Regions from separate parts of the Homo sapiens genome. Here all the other regions are linked to region 3. The links are contacts of gene promoters, found by promoter capture Hi-C in blood cells and fetal thymus (Javierre and others, 2016). All regions are on one chromosome and are shown on one strand. The core of a region is centred on a gene start or on the middle of the fragment in contact, and the rest is flanking DNA. Distances in the headings are between cores, read along the strand shown.

What was found. Contacts are between HindIII fragments. The CHiCAGO score rates a contact against its expected background, and 5 or more counts as called.
Region 1: a contact is called between a fragment that was not itself captured here and the fragment with the promoter of CREG1 in region 3, in 8 of 17 cell types (fetal thymus, total CD4 T cells, total B cells and 5 more). The highest score is 7.9, in fetal thymus.
Region 2: a fragment that was not itself captured here is called in contact with the fragment with the promoter of CREG1 in region 3 in 1 of 17 cell types (neutrophils); the score reaches 5.7 in neutrophils.
Region 4: a fragment that was not itself captured here is called in contact with the fragment with the promoter of CREG1 in region 3 in 11 of 17 cell types (fetal thymus, total CD4 T cells, total B cells and 8 more); the score reaches 14.5 in fetal thymus.
Region 5: a contact is called between a fragment that was not itself captured here and the fragment with the promoter of CREG1 in region 3, in 1 of 17 cell types (total CD4 T cells). The highest score is 5.8, in total CD4 T cells.
Region 6: a fragment that was not itself captured here is called in contact with the fragment with the promoter of CREG1 in region 3 in 1 of 17 cell types (non-activated CD4 T cells); the score reaches 5.6 in non-activated CD4 T cells.
Region 7: a fragment that was not itself captured here is called in contact with the fragment with the promoter of CREG1 in region 3 in 8 of 17 cell types (naive CD4 T cells, fetal thymus, total CD4 T cells and 5 more); the score reaches 12.1 in naive CD4 T cells.

Annotation. Positions count from the first base shown.
Region 1 is chr1:167,101,542-167,104,278 of GRCh38, reverse strand. The region is part of intron 2 of STYXL2 (serine/threonine/tyrosine interacting like 2); the gene reads right to left. Among named protein-coding and RNA genes, the nearest start is that of STYXL2, 8.8 kb to the right of the region's middle. RefSeq lists a silencer at 373-667. The HindIII fragment of the contact is 791 bases long and covers 1,053-1,843 here.
Region 2 is chr1:167,941,708-167,944,586 of GRCh38, reverse strand. The region is part of intron 1 of DCAF6 (DDB1 and CUL4 associated factor 6); the gene reads right to left. Among named protein-coding and RNA genes, the nearest start is that of MPC2, 6.1 kb to the right of the region's middle. The HindIII fragment of the contact is 3,401 bases long and covers 1-2,879 here.
Region 3 is chr1:167,552,314-167,555,117 of GRCh38, reverse strand. It overlaps CREG1 (cellular repressor of E1A stimulated genes 1), which reads left to right and starts at 1,356. Exons shown (of 4, transcript NM_003851.3): 1 at 1,356-1,730. The coding sequence starts at 1,377. RefSeq lists a silencer at 1,218-1,667. The HindIII fragment of the contact is 3,087 bases long and covers 1-2,463 here.
Region 4 is chr1:167,074,736-167,077,637 of GRCh38, reverse strand. The region is part of intron 1 of GPA33 (glycoprotein A33); the gene reads left to right. Among named protein-coding and RNA genes, the nearest start is that of GPA33, 14 kb to the left of the region's middle. The HindIII fragment of the contact is 9,307 bases long and covers 1-2,902 here.
Region 5 is chr1:167,164,207-167,167,018 of GRCh38, reverse strand. It overlaps LOC105371601 (a long non-coding RNA gene), which reads right to left and starts at 419. Exons shown (of 3, transcript XR_922250.3): 1 at 1-419. The HindIII fragment of the contact is 1,140 bases long and covers 989-2,128 here.
Region 6 is chr1:167,142,710-167,145,695 of GRCh38, reverse strand. No RefSeq gene overlaps it. Among named protein-coding and RNA genes, the nearest start is that of STYXL2, 50 kb to the right of the region's middle. The HindIII fragment of the contact is 6,442 bases long and covers 1-2,986 here.
Region 7 is chr1:167,117,839-167,120,538 of GRCh38, reverse strand. STYXL2 (serine/threonine/tyrosine interacting like 2) reads right to left here. Exons shown (of 6, transcript NM_001080426.3): 5 at 1,073-1,290. Among named protein-coding and RNA genes, the nearest start is that of STYXL2, 25 kb to the right of the region's middle. The HindIII fragment of the contact is 1,371 bases long and covers 576-1,946 here.

The DNA of each region.
Region 1 (2,737 bases), core at 199-2,698, 450 kb after region 3:
CATTCTTCAAATCAGGAACAAGAGAATGATAAAAATGCCTTTGCTCCTTTAGTTGGAAAGAAGAGAAAACTGATGATAATAGCTAAGAAGGAAGAGACGGGGGGTGGGGGGACGGGCAGAGGTTGGTTTGCATTACAAGCGCACTTACTTCTTTTTTTTCAAGACAGAGTCTGGCTCTGTCCCCCAGGCTGGAGTGCAGTGGCCCAATCTCGGCTCACTGCAAGCTCCGCCTCCCGATTCATGCCATTCACCTGTCTCAGCCTCCTGAGCAGCTGGGATTACAGGCGCCCACCACCACACCAGGCTAATTTTTCTATTTTTAGTAGAGACGGGGTTTCACCGTGTTAGCCAGGATGGTCTCGATCTCCTGACCTTGTGATCCGCCTACCTCGGCCTCCCAAAGGGCTGGGGTTACAGGCGTGAGCCACCGCGCCCGGCTGTGCACTTACTTCTTAGGCTGTATTTGTTTAGGTGACTGGGAAGGCCTGACGGAGACTATAGGTAAGGGAGAAGTCCCCACCAAGCTCCCCCACTGACAGGGGGTTTTAAATTTCAGTGTCAACTCATGAATCACTTAGGGAAATTTGCCTAGCTGTGAGATGGATGAATCTCTAACCGCCCATTTTCTTCCAGAGAGTGACTCATAGTGGCTAGGTTTGAATTTAAGGTGTTTGAAGTTAGTGCCTAACTCAGGCAAAAATGAAGATTTGATACCCCATCCATTTTCTACACCCCTTTCTCAGATTCTTAATTCACCCTAGGATGAGATTTACAGATGAGACTTGAAATGTTAAGACTCCCTGCCAGGACAGCAAGCAGGGTACATCCCTGCTAATTTTGGCTGGCTGCTAGTGGCTGTTTGGATCACTGGGTGAAGTTTTGCAAGGCTCTGTTCTAGTTCCACAGGAAAGAGTAAAATTCTGTTTCCTAGGGGCTGGATATAGGGCTGTAGTGAGTTGAACGGTGCCCTCCAAAATGGTATGTCTTCCAAAACCTGGGAATGTAATCTTTTTTGGAAAAAGGATCATTGCAGGAGTAATTAAGTTAAAGCTTTTGAGATGAGATAACCCTAAATTAGGATGGACTCTAAAGCCAGTGGCAAGTGTCCTTATAAGAGAAGAGAAGACAGAGCAGACGGCCTTTTGAAGGAGTGGCAGAGATTGGAATTATGCTGCCACAATGCAAGAAACGCCCGTAGCCAACAGAAACGAGCAAGAGACAAGGAAGGAGTCTTCCCTAGAGTCTTTGGAGGCTGTGTGGCTCTGTCACCAGCTTGATTTCAGACTTCTGGCTTCCAATATGTGAGAAAATAAATTTCTCTTGTTTTTAAGCTGCCTAGTTTGTAGTAATTTGCTGTGGCAGCCCTAGGAAACTAGTACAAGGACTAAGAGTCCGGTGGTGAGGTATTTGCTGACTTGGTGCGTAATTTAACTTAAAGAAGACTTAAAATTTAACTTAAAGACTCAAACCTTTACCTGAAGTCATAAAACCAGAAGGATGGAATTTCAGGCACTTATCAAGTACAAGGAGGACTGTTCAGGATGGGGACAAATATCAGTAAGTGATACTCTGCTTCTTAGAATACAGGATTTGCTCATGGCAGAATTAGAGAAGCATGATGTCTTAATCAGTGTGTGTGGGACTCTGGCTAAATAAAAATTTCTTGACATGATGAGTTACTGAAAAAATTTTGTTGTCAGATATCTTTTTCTGGAAGGAAAAGGTATGAGAACCAGCATTTATCAAATACCTAGTATACCTTTATATATGTTGTATTATTTATTCTCTACTCCTGGGTAAAACTGGTATTCTGATTTTTTTGATTAAGTAATTTAAGCAAGCTTTCAAGGGTTTATAAGTAGGAGGGCAGGTCTGACCTCAATTTTGGTCTCCACTGCACCACTTAATTTCTTTCCACAGTATCATACTGCCTCCTAAAAGAGGGTTTTATTTATCTTTTATATATATATATATTTTTAAAAAACAGCTTTATTATTGATATACAAACTGCACAAATTTAAAATATACAAGATTTGACATATGTATACATCCGTGAAGCCATCACTGCAACCAAGGTCACATCATCCCGTGTGCCCCTTTTTAAGCCCTCCCTCTCACCCCCTCCCTGCCCTATGCCCCCCAGGCAACCATTAAACTGCTTTCTGCCACTGTAGAGATGGGTTTGCATTTTCTAGAATTTTATATAAATGGAATAATATAGTATGTACCCTTTTTTGTCTGACTTTCAAGCAGTGTAATTATTTTGAGATTCATCCATGTTGTTGTATGAATCAATAGTTCATTTCTTTTCGTTGCTGTATAGTATTCCTATGTGTAAATGTGACACAATGTGTTTATCCATTCACTCGTCATTGGACATCTAGGATGTTTTTAGGTTTTTGGCTATTACAAATAAACCTGCTATGAACATTCATGTCCCAGTCTTTGCATAGACATAGGCTTTTTTTTTTCTTTTTTGAGATGGACTGTCACTCTGTTGCCTAGGCTGAAGTGCAGTGGTGCAATCTTGGTTCACTGCAACCTCCACCTCTCTGGTTCAAGTGATTCTTTTGCCTCAGCCTAAGTAGCTGGGCTTACAGGTGCCCACCACCACACCCAGCTAATTTTTGTATTTTTAGTTAAGATGGGGTTTCACTCTGTTGGACAGGCTGGTCTCAAACTCCTGACCTCAGGTGATCCACTTGCTTCAGCCTCCCAAAGTGCTGGGATTATAGAC
Region 2 (2,879 bases), core at 244-2,743, 390 kb before region 3:
GGTATATGAAAAAATGCTCAACATTACCAGTCATAAGAGAAATGCAAATCAAATTCACAATGAGATATCACCTTATCCTAGTCAGAATGTCTTTTATTAAAAAGACAGACAATGTTGGTTATCATGTGAAAAAAAGGGAACTCTTATATACCATTGGTGGGAATGTAAATTAGTACAGCCTCTATGGAAAACAGTATGGAGATTTCTCCAAGAATTAAAAATAGAACTATCTTTCCATCTAGCAATCCCACTACTAGATTTTTACAAAAAGAAAAGAAATTAATATATCTAAAAGATATGTGCACCAGTATGTTTACTGCAGCACTATTCACAACAGCAAAGATATGGAATCAACCTAAGTGTCCATCAATGGATGAACAGGTAAAGAAAATGTGGTATATATACACAATGGAATACTATTCAGCCATAACAAAGAATGAAATCAGGCTGGGCGTGGTGGCTCACCCCTGTGATCCCAGCACTTTGGGAGGCCGAGGCGGGCAGATCACAAGGTCGGGGGATCGAGGCCATCCTGGCTAACACTGTGAAACCCTGTCTCTACTGAAAATACAAAAAAAAAGTTAGTCAGGTGTGGTGGCGGGCACCTGTAGTCCCAACTACTTGGGAGGCTGAGGCAGGAGAATGGCGTGAACCTCGGAGGCGGAACTTGCAGTAAGCCGAGATCTCACCACTGCACTACAGCCTGGGCGACAGAGTGAGACTCCATCTCAAAAAAAAAATGAATGAAATCATGACATATACAGCAACGTGGATGGAACTAGAGGTCATTATCTTAGGTTAAACAAACCAGGCACACAAAGACAAGTATGATGTTCTGACTCATAAGTGTGTTCTAAACAAACGTGTTCACACAGATGCAGAGTGGAATGATACATAATGGAGTGGAAGAATGAGGAGGTGGGAGGATGATGAGAAATTCGTTAATGAGGACAAAGAACGTTATTCAGGTGATGGATACCTTAAAAGCCCTCACTTGACTGCAGCATAATCTATGCATGTAACAAAACTGCATATGTACCCATAAATTTGTACAAATAAAAAGTAAAAATAAATAAAAATATCATCTAAAATAGCATTACAAATATGAAATATTTAAGGATAAACCTAACACCAAAAAATACAAATCACTGCTGAGAGAATCAAAGAATGCTTAATACACGGAGACAAACCAGAACCACAGATGAGAAGATTCATATTGTAAACATGTCAGTTCTCCCTGAAATAATATATAGATTCAACACAAAATCCCAAGTCTTTTTGTAGAAATTGACAAGCTAGTTCTAAAATTTTTATGGAAATAGAAAGGGTTCAGAATAGCCAGGATAACTATAAATTTTTTTAAAAAAGACCAAATTTCGGCCAGGCGCGGTGGCTCACGCCTGTAATCCCAGCACTTTGGTAGGCCAAGGCGGGCAGATCACAAGGTCAGGAGATCGAGACCATCCTGGCTAACGCGGTGAAACCCCATCTCTACTAAAAAAATACAAAAAAATTAGCCGGGCGTGGTGGCGGGTGCCTGTAGTCCCAGCTACTCGGGAGGCTGAGGCAGGAGAATGGTGTGAACCCAGGAGGCGGAGCTTGTAGTGAGCCAAGATCGAGCCACTGCACTCCAGCCTGGGTGACAGAGCAAGACTCTGTCTCAAAAAAAAGACCAAGTTTAAAGTATCACACTAGCTGATTTCAATCCTCGGTATAAAGACATGAAGCTAGATCAATGGAATGTGGCTAGGAAATTGACTTAAACATTTATGGTCAATTGATTTTCAACAAAGGGAAAAAAGTAGTCTTTCCACACACTGTTAGATCAATTGCACATTAATATGCAAAGAAATGAAACTTGACTCTTACAACATATGTAAAACTTAACTCGAAATTGTTCACAGACCTAAATGTAAGAGGTAAAAAGATAAAATCTCCAGGAAAAAAAAAGTAAAAATCTTTGTTACCTTGGATTAGGTAAAGATTCTTAGATAGGACATAAAAAGTATGAACTATAAAAGAACCTGTTAAGAAAAAGACATAAACTGACAGAAAATATTTGTAAAGTACATATCTGATTAAGGACTGTTATATAAAGAATTATAGAATTCTTACAATATTAAAAAGGTAAACCTGAACATTTAACCAGACTATATGGATGACAAAAACAAAAGCCACAAAAGATACTCAACATCATTAACCACTAGAGAAATGCAAATTAAAGGCCAGGCGCAGCGGCTCATGCTTGTAATCCCAGCACTTTGGGAGGCCGAAGCAGGTCAATCACCTGAGGTCAGGAGTTCGAGACCAGCCTGACCAACATGGCAAAACCCCATGTCTACTAAAAATACAACATTAGCTGGGCATGGTGGCGCATGCCCATATCCCAGCTACTTGGCAGGCTGAGGCAGGAGAATCTCTTGAACCCAGCAGGCAGAGGTTGCGGTAAGCCAAGATCATGCCATTGCACTCCAGCCTGGGCGACAAGAGCGAAACTCCGTCTCAAAAACAAAAAAAGAGAAATGCAAATTAAAACAATGATATATTTCTACACGCCTACCATGAAGGCTACAATTAGGAAGACTCACTACACCAAATGCTGATGAGAATGTGGAGCAATTGGAACTCTCATATACTGCTGGTGGGAATGCAGTATGGTAGAATTACTTTGGAAGACAGTCTGGAAGTTTTTTATAAAGTTAAACATACTTACCATACAAGTCAGCAATCCCACAATAGATATCTATTTAAAAGTGTTCGACCCTAGTTATTTTGTCCAAGATGTACATGAAGTTTCACTATTTACATTTTCCCTGTGGAGCCATCAGCAGTGTTTAAAAAAAAATTTTTTTAATCTCCTTCAAGTACTTGGGGAAGCC
Region 3 (2,804 bases), core at 107-2,606:
GTTACCAGAGGCCAGGAAGGGTAGTGGGGGGACTTGCAGGGGAGGAGTGGGGATGGTTAATGGGTACAAAAAATAGTTAGAATAAGACCTAGTATTTCATAGCACAACAGGGTGACTATAGCCAATAATAATTTAAGTGTACATTTAAAATAACTAAAAGTATAATTGGATTGTTTGTAACACAAAGGATAAATGCTTGAGGCAATGGATACCCCATTTACCCTGATATGACTATTATGCATTGTATGCCTGTAGCAAAATATCTCATGTACCCCATAAATGTATACACCTACTATGTACCCACAAAAATTAAAAATTTTAAAATAAGTAAATAAAAAGTTTTTTAAAGGTCTTGAACTTTCGGGCTTCTGCCTAACTTTACTACTAGTGTAAGTGGGCCCCTTGAGATTTCAGCACCCCAGCATTTGTTAGTGACTGAAATAATGAAAATTCTGATCAGGCCCTTGCTTGCACATGTTGACAACTCTCTTTTTGCCCAATATCCCTTGTTCCTACAACATAATCATAAACTGCTGATGTACTGTTTCTTTATCAAGCAGGAGGAGATAATAACTTCAGGGTTACGAAAAAGTTTGCAGGAGGAATAAGTCCTTTGAAGTACTTTGAGGCCAGCTTCTGTCGCCCAGAAGTCTGATTGTTCAAGGAATTATCTGAGACTGAAGAAACACAGACTTTTTCCCTCGATTCCCTGAAACTCCCCCTCCCTGACTCGCTGGCCGCATAAACACTCTCTGCTTCTTCTTTTTGTTAGGGCGGATTTGAGAGATCTTGCCCTCCCGCCTTCTCGCTTTGGCCAAATCGAATAAACTTTTATCTCCAAGCACCTATATGTCAGTGTTTGGCATCAGCTACACATGGGGTACACGAGCCTGAGTCTGGGCTTCTACAACGCTGGGACCCTCGCTGTTCTTTGGAGCTGATGGTAAATTCAACAGAAAAGAGGCGCATGGGTAGAAAATGCAGCATTTCCTCTCAGATGCCAGATATTCATCTCCAAAGGTATTAAAAGGAGGGGGTGTGTGCCTGTGTAAAGAGGCTGGTCTTTTCCTAGCAGTACGATTTGGGCAAGTTGCTTGATTTCTTCAAGCCTTTCTTTTTCCGCCTGTCAAACAAAACAAAACAAATATCCCGTTTAGGACAAATTCACAATCCTTAAAGAGGGCAGGCAGAGCGATTGGAATGCAGATGAACCAATCCCTTCTCCTGCAGGTTGCGGAGCTGCAGAGGGACCCCGCCCCCTGCATTGTGCTTAGCTCTGATTGGCGCCTCGCGGAGGGGGCGGGGCCTGGGCGCGCCGAGCTCCGGCTGGGTCCCTGCAGGTCTTGGGGCCCGGGACTCTTCCTGGAGACACCGCCATGGCCGGGCTATCCCGCGGGTCCGCGCGCGCACTGCTCGCCGCCCTGCTGGCGTCGACGCTGTTGGCGCTGCTCGTGTCGCCCGCGCGGGGTCGCGGCGGCCGGGACCACGGGGACTGGGACGAGGCCTCCCGGCTGCCGCCGCTACCACCCCGCGAGGACGCGGCGCGCGTGGCCCGCTTCGTGACGCACGTCTCCGACTGGGGCGCTCTGGCCACCATCTCCACGCTGGAGGCGGTGCGCGGCCGGCCCTTCGCCGACGTCCTCTCGCTCAGCGACGGGCCCCCGGGCGCGGGCAGCGGCGTGCCCTATTTCTACCTGAGCCCGCTGCAGCTCTCCGTGAGCAACCTGCAGGTGAGCTGGGGCCCGCGGCTTCCCCAGGCGGGCTGTGGGCGGGGCGGCCACAGAGCGAGCCTTCACTCTCCCCAGAATTCTTCCCGGGAAGTGGAGCGTGGCTCGAACGGCTGTTGCTTCTCTGCCGCGCAGGCAGGTAGGTGGGCGTTGCAGCGTCCCAGATGTTGGGCAGCTGGGTACCAGGAATTTCCCACAAGCCTCCGCCACTGGGCCACGCACCTGGGGTAAATTCTCTGCCAGCAGCCCGAGGACTTCTCATCCGTGAGTGGTTCTCAGTCGTCTTGGGGCCCAGTGTCTCTATTAACTGTGCTCCTATTCTCTTTTTTTTTTTTTTTCCCTTTGAGACAGAATCTCACTTTGTGGCCCAGGCTGGAGTGCAGTGGCGCTATCTCAGCTTACTGCAACCTCTGCCTCCCAGGTTCAAGCGATTCTCGTGCCTCAGCCTACCGAGTAGCTGGGATTACAGGTGCGTGCCACCACACCCGGCTAATTTTTGTATTTTTAGTAGAGGCGGGGTTTCACCATGTTGGCCAGGCTGGTCTCAAACTCCTGACCTCACGTGATCCACCCATCTCAGCCTCCCAAAGTGCTGGGATTACAGGCGTGAACCACCGCGCCCTGCCTGGGCTCCTATTCTTAAAGGTTTTACAGGGCATAGAGATTGTTAGGTACTTAAGCACTTTAATATGTGACTTCAGGGTTTCTCACTCTCTTACCCTTCCTGAATTAAGCTTTTCCCTCCTGCAGCAAGACGCTAACGTACAATATCATGGACGATTACAATGATTACTGCAGTCTTTAGGCCTCCACAGGCATAGTGGCTCCTCAGTAAGATGCAGAGCTGATTGAAGGTGTATCTCTTCCTCGCCCTTTGCCCACCTTCTGGTGCAGGGCCACACTTACAACTCTGATGGATCTCTGCTGTCTCAGGGATGGGGTCACAGACACCCAGCTTGGGAGGCCGGAGACACACAGAGTCCAGGAATGGAGCCTGATTTGATGGAGGGTCTTTTTGACAAAGCTCTCACATTTGAGTTCAACTCTGAAAGTACAACATTGTTGATAAAGACAGGA
Region 4 (2,902 bases), core at 157-2,656, 480 kb after region 3:
TCTTTGATTTGAGAGTGAGAATTGTTACTATCAGATAGAATTTGCTTGAGTTTTGGGGACCAACTGTGCATGGGCCATTTAGGTTCTGCCAGTGGCAGAAGTCCCTTAATGTGTAGTGTGTGGCCAGGGTGATAGACAAGAACAGAATCAGTGTAAAGTTCATGGAGAGGCCCAAGAGTGGTCACCGTGAGGACAGCGCTCCAGGGAAAATGCCCTGGTCCAGGCAAGGACAGAAGAGGTGAAGTAAAGATCAGTGGCAGTTGCCATGACTACACCAGGCATATGAGAAATGATATCTAGATGGGCTGTCTGCTATAGCTGGGAGCTGGGCAGACGGCACTGGAGGGCTCCATTGAAGCAAGTAACCTTCTGATGAAGGGTGACTTGTTAGTAATGATGACTAATGTGTTTTCTTCTCTTTTTTTTTTTTTGGAAATGGAGTCTTGCTCTGTTGCCCAGGTTGGAGTGCAGTGGTGCAATCTCAGCTCACTGCAGCCTCTACCTCCCAGCTTCAAGTGATTCTCCTGCCTCAGCCTCCTGAGTAGCTGGGACTACAGGCATGCACCACCACAGTCGCTAATTTTTTGTATTTTTAGTAGAGGCAGGGTTTTACCATGTTGGCCAGGCTGGTCTTGAACTCCTGACCTCAGGTGATCCATCCACCTCGGCCTCCCAAAGTGCTGGGATTACAGGCACGAGCCACTGCGCCCTGCCAGCAAATGTTTTCTGATAGACGAAGGTGGTGGAAAGACACCAGTCACATGGAGGGTCATTTGATAAGTCTTGGCCACTTTGGAATCACCTTCTGGAGCAGCATCAGTGACTTGGGAAGCCAACATTTGAACAAATTTTCAGGGGCTTCTGGCACTGGCATCACCATGAGGAAAATATGCAAATGCCAAAGAGGGGAAACCTGTTTTTTTGACATCTTCCTGTCTCTCATTCCCAATATCCAATACTCCCGGATATTATAAACTCACCCCAGGAGCTCACATGGCCCTCACTGTACAGTGCCCATTCCAGGAGGGTGGCTGACTTTCACCTTATGAAATACTGCTTAATGAAGTATGAACAACCCGAATGCTTCCCTGTTTCCCAGGAGCGATTTGCATTTTGAAAGAGAAGTGTGTTAATCCAGCTGGAATTTGCCTGGATAGTGGAGTCTTCCCAGCTGGGCGGGGGGACGGTCTTCAGCAGGACATTTTCCTTCTTTATGCTGCAGCCTCATCATGGGAACATTCAGTAAGAACTTGCTCACCCTTCTACCACCAAATCTACCAGCCCACTTGCACCTTTAGCCACATCCTGTTACAGTGGGTAGACAGCCCGGCATCTCTTCTAAGGCCTGTCCTCCCATAACACCGTACCCCCAGCCCCATTTGCCCTACAAGGACATCATTTCTGTCCCCATTCTCTCTTGGCTCATTCTCATCATCAACAAACAGTGTAAAAGTATTATTTTTTAAATCATCATACACATATTTTGGGAAAAAGGGCGTAAACTCCTCTTGACCCTATAGCCTCCTTTAGCTGCTACAGTCTCCCTGCTCTCTTCCCTTTCCAGCAAACACTGTCTGCTTCCTCTTGTCCCATCAGCTCTTGAACTCACTCCTTTCAGGCTCCATCCCCACCACCCCACTGCATCCACTAATGCCAAGGCCACCTCCATGTGGCCACATCCAATGACCATCTCTCTGCCCTCAGGTCCCTGGTTGAACATGTCAGCAGCATTTGAGTAGCTGACCTCCTTTGCTTTCAAGAAACTTTTCCTGCTCTTGGTTCTCTTCCTGTCTCCCTAGCCAGATTTTCCTACTTCTCCCTTACTGATTCCTCCTAATTTCCTCCATCATGAAGCACTGGAGTGTCCCAGGGTTCAGTCCCACATGTCTTTCCTGTCTTCATGCACTTCCTTAGTGATCCTCAACATCCTCTGACCTTAACTGATGGAGAGCCGGTGACTCCCAAAGTTGTGTCTCCATTCCGTGCCTCTGTGGCACTCCAGACTTACATAACTGCCTCATTGCCACCTCCACCAGGGTGTCTAAGGAGCATCTCAAACTTTGCAAGTCCTCAAACAAACTCCTGATCTGCCCCCTGAAACTTCCTCCTTCCTTAACTGTTGTCATTTCAGTAAACGACAACTCCATTCTTCCAGTTGCTGAGGCCAAATCCTTCTGTCTATTCCTGACTCCTGTTTTCCTCTAACACGCCAAATGTAGCCTGCAGTCAAATCCCATTGGCCCTACCTTCTAAATACATTCCAATTTGGATCACTTCTCACCACCTCCCCACAATCACCTGTGTCTAAGACATTAGCCCTCATCTGGACTATTGAGCCAACTCTTGCCTGATTTCCTTGCTTCCATTCTTGTTCCCCACCCCACTTCTATCTGTTCACCCCACATTTGCCAGAATGATCTTTTAACAATGTATGTCAGGCCAGGCATGGTGGCTCATGCCTGTAATCCCAGCACTTTGGGAGGCTGAGGTGGGTGGATCACCTGAGGTCAGGAGTTCAAGACCAGCCTGGCCAACATGGTGAAACCCCATCTCTACTAAAAATACAAAATTAGCTGGGCGTGGTGGTGCATGCCTGTAATCCCAGCTACTCGGGAGGCTGAGGCAGGAGAATCACTTGAACCTGGCGGGAGGAGGCAATTCAAGATCGAGCCACTGCACTCCAGCCTGGCAACAGAGCGAGACTCTCTCTCAAAAAAAAAAAAAAAAAAAAGTAAGTCAAATATATTTTCTCTGCTTAAATCTCTCCAGGGCATTTTCACTTCATTCAGAGCAAAATACAAAGTCCTAAATAAGGGCTACATTGCTCTATGCAATCTGAGACCACCCCCACCCCCACAACTTTTCCATTTCATCTCTCCTCCTCACTCACTTCCCTCCCACT
Region 5 (2,812 bases), core at 309-2,808, 390 kb after region 3:
TAGATGAGGAGGTCACTGCTTTGCATCTGTAGAGCACTCAATATATCTAAAAACTGCAAAACCCAACTCTGAGTTTACAGTCAGTAGCAAGCTGTTAACTCCTAGCACGTGGGGAATCATCTGTTAGAGTTGGAACAGTGCCCTGGGAAGTTTTACATTATTTGTGTGTCAAAGAATAGGAAGGAAGAAAAGAAGGAAGGAAGGAGATTTTAAAAAGAATGGATATTATTTAAAAAGGAAACACTTGGAAAAAATTATTTCATTTGTTCATTCCCTCACTCATATTAACTGAATAGGAAACTTTATTGCATGGGTGCATGAAATGTTACTCGAGCCCTCCTTATCACAGACACTGTCCTGGGTATGAGGAGCATAGGAGGGAGCATGACATCTGTGGTTGCAGGCGGCTCAGTGTTTATGGTCTGGCACCCCTCAGGAGGCTGGGTAATATACATGGCCCGGGTCACATAGCTGGAATACCTAGCAGCTTTCCCCCCGTTGCCATGGAGACCCTGGAGACGGGAAGAGGAGGGAAGGCCTTTCTGGTATCTTCCAGCAGCTCCCAACACCCTTTCGTCTTAGCCTGGGCCTTTTCTTCAGCTGCAAACACCCACGAGGGAAATGTGCAGCTGACCTCTGGGGTCCCCGGGCTGAGGGTGATGTACGCCACAGTGGAGGAGGACATTGGCGCTGCCTCAAGGCTGCTGAGCAGACCTGCCATGAAGAAAATTATGAGGTGAATTAAACTTTAATTTGATTTTTATTTGGTTTCAGCAACCAGTAAAGACATAGCGATTTCCCCAGCCCTCTCACTGGTTGGAGGAATGCTTTGAGAACATCTGTTTTATTAGCAGCAACAACAATAAAAGCCAATCCTATATTTGCAGAGGGGCTGTCTTCCAAGGCCCTCCAAGTACTTTTCGCTGATCTTATCTGCTCTCCTTTCCACAGCAACCCCAGAGAAATTGTATTTACTTGTAATTAAGCTTAACCGCTGACCTCTCCTGCAGCTCTCCCCACTACTGTCTGCTCAACCATTTGCATCGCAAAAAGGAAGACTAGCAAGGTGGAGATTGGGGGAGGCTTCGGGGAGAAGAAAGAGCAAGGTGGAAATAATTTTTTCCAAGTGTTTCCTTTTTTAAATAATATCCATTCTTTTTAAAATCTCCTTCCTTCCTTCTTTTCTTCCTTCCTATTCAACACTTACTGGGTATTCAGTACCAAGCCAGCATAAAGCTGTGTTCTGGGTTTTCAGGATTAGGAAGGTGTATAGAGATGTGTAGGCACAGGGAAAAAGTGAGAAAACATTTCTAGCTTGCATAGAATTCTGTTTTTCTGAAAGAATAGAAAAATATAGAAATTTCCTATGTTTTTCCTAAATATCTTCTCTTCCTTTTTCTCTTCATTTGCTAAGATACCTAAATTATTATTATTTTTAAAAAGACATAATTATCTTAATTACGTGACAGAAATTGACTATGCTTTAGGTACTAAAAGTGATGCTGTTTTAAATTCTACAAGCCCAGTGGATAAACAAAATATGGTATATTCATGTAATGGAAGATTATTCTGACAGGAAGAGGAATAAAATACTAAATGAAATACTACATTGTGGGTGAAATTTGAAAACCTTATGCTAAGTGAAAGAAGCTAGTTATAAATGACAACATATTGTATGATTCCACGTATGTGAAATGTCCAAAGTATGCAAATTCAGTGAGACAGGGAGTAAAAGTGGTTGCCAAGGTTTGGGAGGAGAGATAAATGGGGAATAACAGCTGATGGGTTTAGAGTTCCTTTTGGGGGTGATGAAAATATTCTGGAATTACCTAATGGTGATAGTTGTACAACCTTGGAGTATATTAATCAAAGTGTGCCCAGCTCTTTGTGAAGATGACTCTTTATTACCATTTTGAATCTGTTCCCCTCTAACAACACATATAATCAAAAAGTCATCAGATTAATGTGATGTTTATTAAGAATGTGTAATAACATGAATAAATGCTTCTTATAACATGAACTTTAAAAAGTGGGTTATAATGTGGGGTTGCAGTGTGCACATAACCACTGAATTGCACCATTTAAATAGGTGAATTTTGTACTATGTAAAATATATTGCAATAAAGCTTTAGAAAACATTCTACAGGCCTGGTAGCAGTGTGTAATCTCAGGGTGGAGGTCACTCATAAATTTCATTCCAAATACTTCACAGTCTGTGTAAGGGGTTTGAGATGCCTCACTATTCTTTGAGATAGGAAACAACAAGGGTTTGGTGATGGGAAAAATCCTGAAAATAAGGCATTGGATGAGCAAAGTAGGAGATGGTTGGCATAGGATGGCACTGAGCCTTCATGCACACTGGAAGCATGTTTGCACATGGATCAGCAATACATATGCAGTGAGGGAGGGTGCACATGTATTGCCAGACAAGTAATGCATATGGGGACCTGGAGGTTGGGTAGAAATGAGGATCAGGAATGTAGAGAGGGGCTCTTCACTGGGTTGATAAAATAATAATGCACCATGGCTGGGCACGGTGGCTCACACCTGTAATCCCAGCACTTTGGGAGACAGAGGCAGGTGGATCACCTGAGGTCAGGAGTTTGAGACCAGCCTTGGCCAACATGGTGAAACCTTATCTCTGCTAAAAATACAAAAATCAGCCAGGTGTGGTGGTGGGCGCCTGTAATCCCAGCTACTCAGGAGGCTGAGGCAGGAGAATCACTTGAACTCAGGAGGCGGAGGTTTTAGTGAGCCAAGATCGTGCCACTGCACTCCAGCCTGGGGAACACAGACAGACTCCGTCTGAAAA
Region 6 (2,986 bases), core at 474-2,973, 410 kb after region 3:
AATAAGAGGTTTAATATAGCAAGAAGATACACCCATTATAAACATTTACATACCTACCTAATAACGGACCACTAAACTATGTGAAGCAAAAACTGACAGAATTAAAGAGAGAAATAGACAGTTCTAACAGAACAGTTGGAGACTGCAGTACACCATTCTCAGCAATGGATAGAACAGAGAGAAGACAACAAAGGCAATAAGTACCTTAAACAACACAATAAATCAACTAGATCAAACAGACATATCTAGAGCACTCTACCCAACAACAGCAGCATACACATCATTCTCAGTTGCACATGGGGCATTTTCCAGGATAAACCGTAGGTTAGGTCATAAATTAGGTCAAAATGTGGTATATACATGAAGCAGAGTATTATTTAGCCTTAAAAAGGAAGGGAATTCTGACATATGCTACAACACATGGATGAACTTTGAGGACGTTTTGCTCAGTGAAATAAGCCAGTCACAAGAAAACAAATATTATATAATTCCACTTATATGAGGCACATAGAGTAGTAAAAATCAAAGAGACAGAAAGCAGAATGGTGGTTTCCAGGGGCAGGAAAGAAGGGATAAGAAAGAGTCACTGTTTAAGGGGTATAGAGCTTGACTTTTACAAGATGAAAAAGTTCCAGGGATGGGTAGTGGTGATGATTGTACAACTTTATGAATATATTTAACATCACTTAACTGTACACTTAAAATGGTCACGATTATAGATTCTATGCTGTGTTTTCTCTTTCTTTCTTTCTTTCTTTTTCTTTTTCTTTTTTTTTTTTTTTTTTTTTTGAGACAGAGTTTCATTCTATTGCCTAGGCTGGAGTGCAGTTGCGTGATCTTGGCTCATTACTCCAGCCTCCACCTCCTGGGCTCAAGCGATTCTTCCACCTCAGTCTCCCAAATAGCTGGGAGTTCAGGAGCGTGCCACCACACCTGGCTAAATTTGTTTACTTTTTTGTAGAGATGAGGTCTCACTATATCTCCCAGGCTGGTCTTGAACTCCTCGGCTCAAGTGATCCTCTCACCTAAGCCTCCCAAAGTGCTGGGATTATAGACATTAGACAATGCTCCCAGACTATGTCATGTATATTTTACCACAACAAAAAAATTGAAGGAGGAAAAAAGGCTATTTGACTATTTTGATAATTGCACTATGGCCATAAAACATGTTAGAATAAGAGTGGGGGACATAAAGGAAGTCTTTATTACTTTTTTTGCAACTTTTCTGTAGGTCTAAAAGTAGACCAAAATAAAAAATGGCCATTTGAAAGTGCTGCTGATAATAAAAATATTATTTATATATAATGAAATATGGCAACATGGTGAAAACCTGTCTCTACAAAAAATACAAAAATCAGCTAGGCATGGTGGCGTGTGCCTATAGACCCAGCTACCAGGTGAGGGGAAGAGGGGGCTGAGGCAGGAGAATCGCTTGAGCCTGGAAGGTTGAAGCTGCAGTAAGCCGCGACTGTGCCACTGCACTTCAGCCCAGATGACAGAGTGAGACCCTTTCTCAAAAACAAGAACAAAACAAAAAAAGAAATGAACAACATTATAAACCCATTAGACCTAATGGACACTACACCCTACAAAAGCACAATGCACATTCTTCTCAAGGGCACATCGGACATCTCCTAGATGGGCAATGTAGTGAGACCTCATCTCTATAAAAAATTAAAAAATTAGCCAGGTGTGGTGGTGTGTGCCTGTAGCTTTAGCTACTTGGGAGGCTGAGGTGGGAGGATCACTTAAGCCTAAGAGTTTGAGGCTGCAGTGAGCCATGATCGTGCCAATGCAGTCCAGCCTGAGTGACAGAGACAGACCTTCTCTCTAAAAAAAACAACCACATAAAAGTAAAAGAAACGGAAAAAAAGTACGAAATAAATACAAAGCAAGAAGGGAAGAAATAAAGATTAGAGTAGATATAAATGAAATGGAATGGAAAAGCAATCGAGAATATCAGTAAAAAGTTGGTTCTTGGAAATGTTCAACAAAGGTGACAAATCTTTAATTGAACTTACCAAGAAAAAAAAAGAGAGAAGACAGAAATTACTAAAATCAGGAATGAAAAAAAAAAGAGGCCGGGCGTGGTAGCTGTAATCCCAGCACTTTGGGAGGCCTAGGCGGGCGGATCACTTGAGGTCAGGAGTTAGAGACTGGCCTGGCCAATACGGTGAAGCCCGTCTCTACTAAAAATACAAAAAATTAGCTGGGCATGGTGGCGTACACCTGTAATCCCAGCTACTCGGGAGGCTGAGGCAGGAGAATCTCTTGAACCCGGGAGACAGAAGTTGCAGTGAGCTGAGATTGTGCCATTGCACTCTAGTCTAGGTGAAAGAGTGAGACTCTGTCTCAAAAAAAAAAAAAAAAAAAAAAAAAAGAAAGAAAACAAAAACATCATTACCAACCTTGCAAAAATTAAAAGGATCATAAAAGTATATTACAAATAACTGCATGCCAACAAATTTGATATCATGGCCGGGTGCGGTGGCTCAGGGCTGTAATCCCAGCACTTTGGGAGGCTGAGGCGGGCGGATCACAAGGTCAGGAGATTGAGAGAATCCTGACTAACAAGGTGAAACCCGTCTCTACTAAAAATACAAAAATTAGCCGGGCGTGGTGGCGGGCACCTGTAGTCCCAGCTACTCGGGAGGCTGAGGCAGGGGAATGGCGTGAAGCCAGGAGGCGGAGCTTGCAGTGAGCCAAGATTGCACCACTGCACTCCAGCCTGGTCAACAGAGAGAGACTCCGTCTCCAAAAAAAAAGGAGTTCGATGGTGAAACCCCGTCTCTACTAAAACTACAAAAATTAGCCGGGTATGGTGGCATGCGCCTGTAATCCCAGCTACTCAGGAGCCTGAGGCAGGAGAATCGTTAGAACCCGGGAGGCAGAGGTTGCAGTGAGCCAAGATGGCGCCACTGCACTCCAGCCTGGGTGACAGAGCAAGACTCCATCTCAAAAAAAAAAAATTGATATCATATATGAA
Region 7 (2,700 bases), core at 12-2,511, 430 kb after region 3:
GAAATCATTAACAATATTATTATAGCAATGGCTATAATTTTTAAAGCATTTATTGTGCCAGGTGTTGTCCCAAGGGAGTTATTTTATATGCATTTTTAAAACGTTATTCCTCACAGCAACTTTAGGATTTGATATTTTTGTCTTTGTTCTCTGCAGTTCCTAGGGCTAAAGGAAATGGCCCAAGGTCACATTGTATATACAGTGTAGCAAATCCTGGACTCAAACCCAGGTTTCTGGACACCATATCCTCAACTCTTCCCAGCCAGGCTGTCGGCCCCATTGCCTGGGCTCCACCTCTCCTCCCTGAGGCCTGTGACCTCTGCAGACTAGTCTCATGTCACCTTTCACTTGGATATAGCAATAGCAACCCCAAAGCACTACTCTCTACCTTCCCAACTCGGTCTGTTCTCCAAGGTGGAGGGAGGGAGTTTTCCAAAACATAAATCAGATCAAGGTGCCGCTCCAACTTCTTACCCTGGCTTTTAGCTTCCTGTTTGATGGGGAACCTCTGCCACTTCAACCTTCATCCACCATGCTCATCGACACTGGCCTTTGATTCCTGAACACACCAAGCTTTCCACCTTTGGATCTTTGCACTACTAGTTCTCTTCTGCAGGAATGCTCTTCTTCCAGTTCTCCCATGGCTAGCCCTTTGTCACTTGGCTTAAATGTCCCATTGTCAGAAGGCCTCCTCCCCCATGCTCTCCAAGGAGCTAGTCAGTCACTCTAGCACATTGTTCTAGTTAGTCTCTGCCTCACACTTATCACCATCTGACATTTTTTTCTCTTTTTTTCATTTTCTGTCCCCTCTTACAGTGTAACAGTCAAAGGCTGGAAGCGTTGCCTGTGTCTTTCACCACAGTGCCTAGAATAGTAGTTGGCACTTGCTAGGCACTCAGTAATTACTTACTGGATGAATGATTATCCTGTCTTTTCTCCTTTTCTTAGAGAAAACAGCCTTCTTAAGACAGATACCCCTCACACACGCCAACTAATCAGGTTTTCATAACATTCCCCACATTACTTTTCCCCCGTGGAATTCCAGCAGCCTGGAGCGGCAGATCCCTCTCACCTCTGTAAGTCAGCAGCGCCTCATCCAGGAACTCAGACGCCTTCCGGAAATGCTGGGAAATGTCCACCTCAGGAAAGTCATCCACCTCTACACCCAGGTACTGGATCTCCAGGCCAGTGTAGAATTCGGGGCCAGTGTAAACGCCGGTGCCATGCGCAGCATTCAGAATGTGGGTGATTCCCAGCCTCTTCAGCCTCCCCTTGTTCACAGCCACACTCCTGCGGGAAGAGGCAGGGACCTGTTTGCAAGAGTCGGAACTAGAAAGGTGTGTCACCACTGTGACGGTGAGCCTGCCTCAGCCAGTCTAGGGCCACAGCTGGGCAAGTGCCTCCTTTTCTGCCCCTGGTTGTCTGGGGATCACTGCAAATACCATTATAGAAAGAGTTGATGACTTGGCCTCAGCAAAAGGGAGAAAAGACATGCAGTTAGGCAAGGAAGGGCGAGATGAAGAGGCCAACAAAATGATGTGTAAGGAAACATTTGAATGATCCAGAGACTTCTAGTTTAAAACCCCATGCCTTGGGAATGGACATTCATCAAGGCACAAAAGTGGTAGGCACAAATAATAAAATTAAGTGTATTCCACATTAATATGGCATGCTATAATTGTCAAAATCCTTTCACATGCATTATTTTATGTTATCCTAACAATAAACTTAAGAAGTAGACAGGAACTCTAGTTTTATTCCCATTTGAAGATTATAAAACTCAATCTGAGAGCTCTTATAACTTCCCAAGATTGTGAAAGGAGAAAAAGACAACAAGAACTAGTGTTTTAGATTTCTAGTTCAGAGCTCTTTTTGCTGTAGCTGAATAAGTGCAGCTTAGTTTGAAGAGGCCCTGAGGACAGGTTGTCCGAGAAGGAACAAAAGCTTTTAGCTGAGGATACCTGGCGATGCCTGGGTTCTTAGTGACCGTAAGATGAATGCTTCTGTATCTGAAGATCTATTTAAAGATCACTTAAGACTTGGTGCCCAGCTCTGAGGATCAAGTTCTAGGCAACTGATTACTCCTTGGTGAAGATAAGACCCACTGTTCAAAGCTGTTTTCCCTATTCCCTCCCCTGAGGCCAAATTTCCTCCTTTGCTTCTGGATATCTGGATAATTACACTGGGAAAACATCTCATTAAGTATTCGATGAGTCAGCAAAAATTTGTTTCACTAATTAACCAAGTGGTCGCAATTATGCACTGGCATCCTAAAGAAATAGGATGTGAGTGAGTTGTTTTTGTTCTGGAAACCGCTGATAAACTTTTAGAAAATAATAGTTTTTGGATTATAAAAACAATGTCTACCTTAGGAAACCTGTACAAGTTAAAGGAAATCTAAAGAAGAAAATAAAAACTGCTTGTAAAAACACCTCCCAGAGAGAAACATTGTTCACATTTTCTCACATTTCCTAACTGTTGTCTATGCAAAAACATGCACACACATACACATACATCTGTTGCTCAATTAGCAGCACACTGTACATGTCTTCTCTTGTAATCTAATTCTTTCTTACTGTATTGTGAACATTTTCCAATGTTGGTAATTACATATGCATGTCAGTATTATTGTCAATGGCTCCTAGTGTCCGGTTCTGTGGTAGCTACAGATGTCATGAGATGGTGAAGTCGGCAAGACTC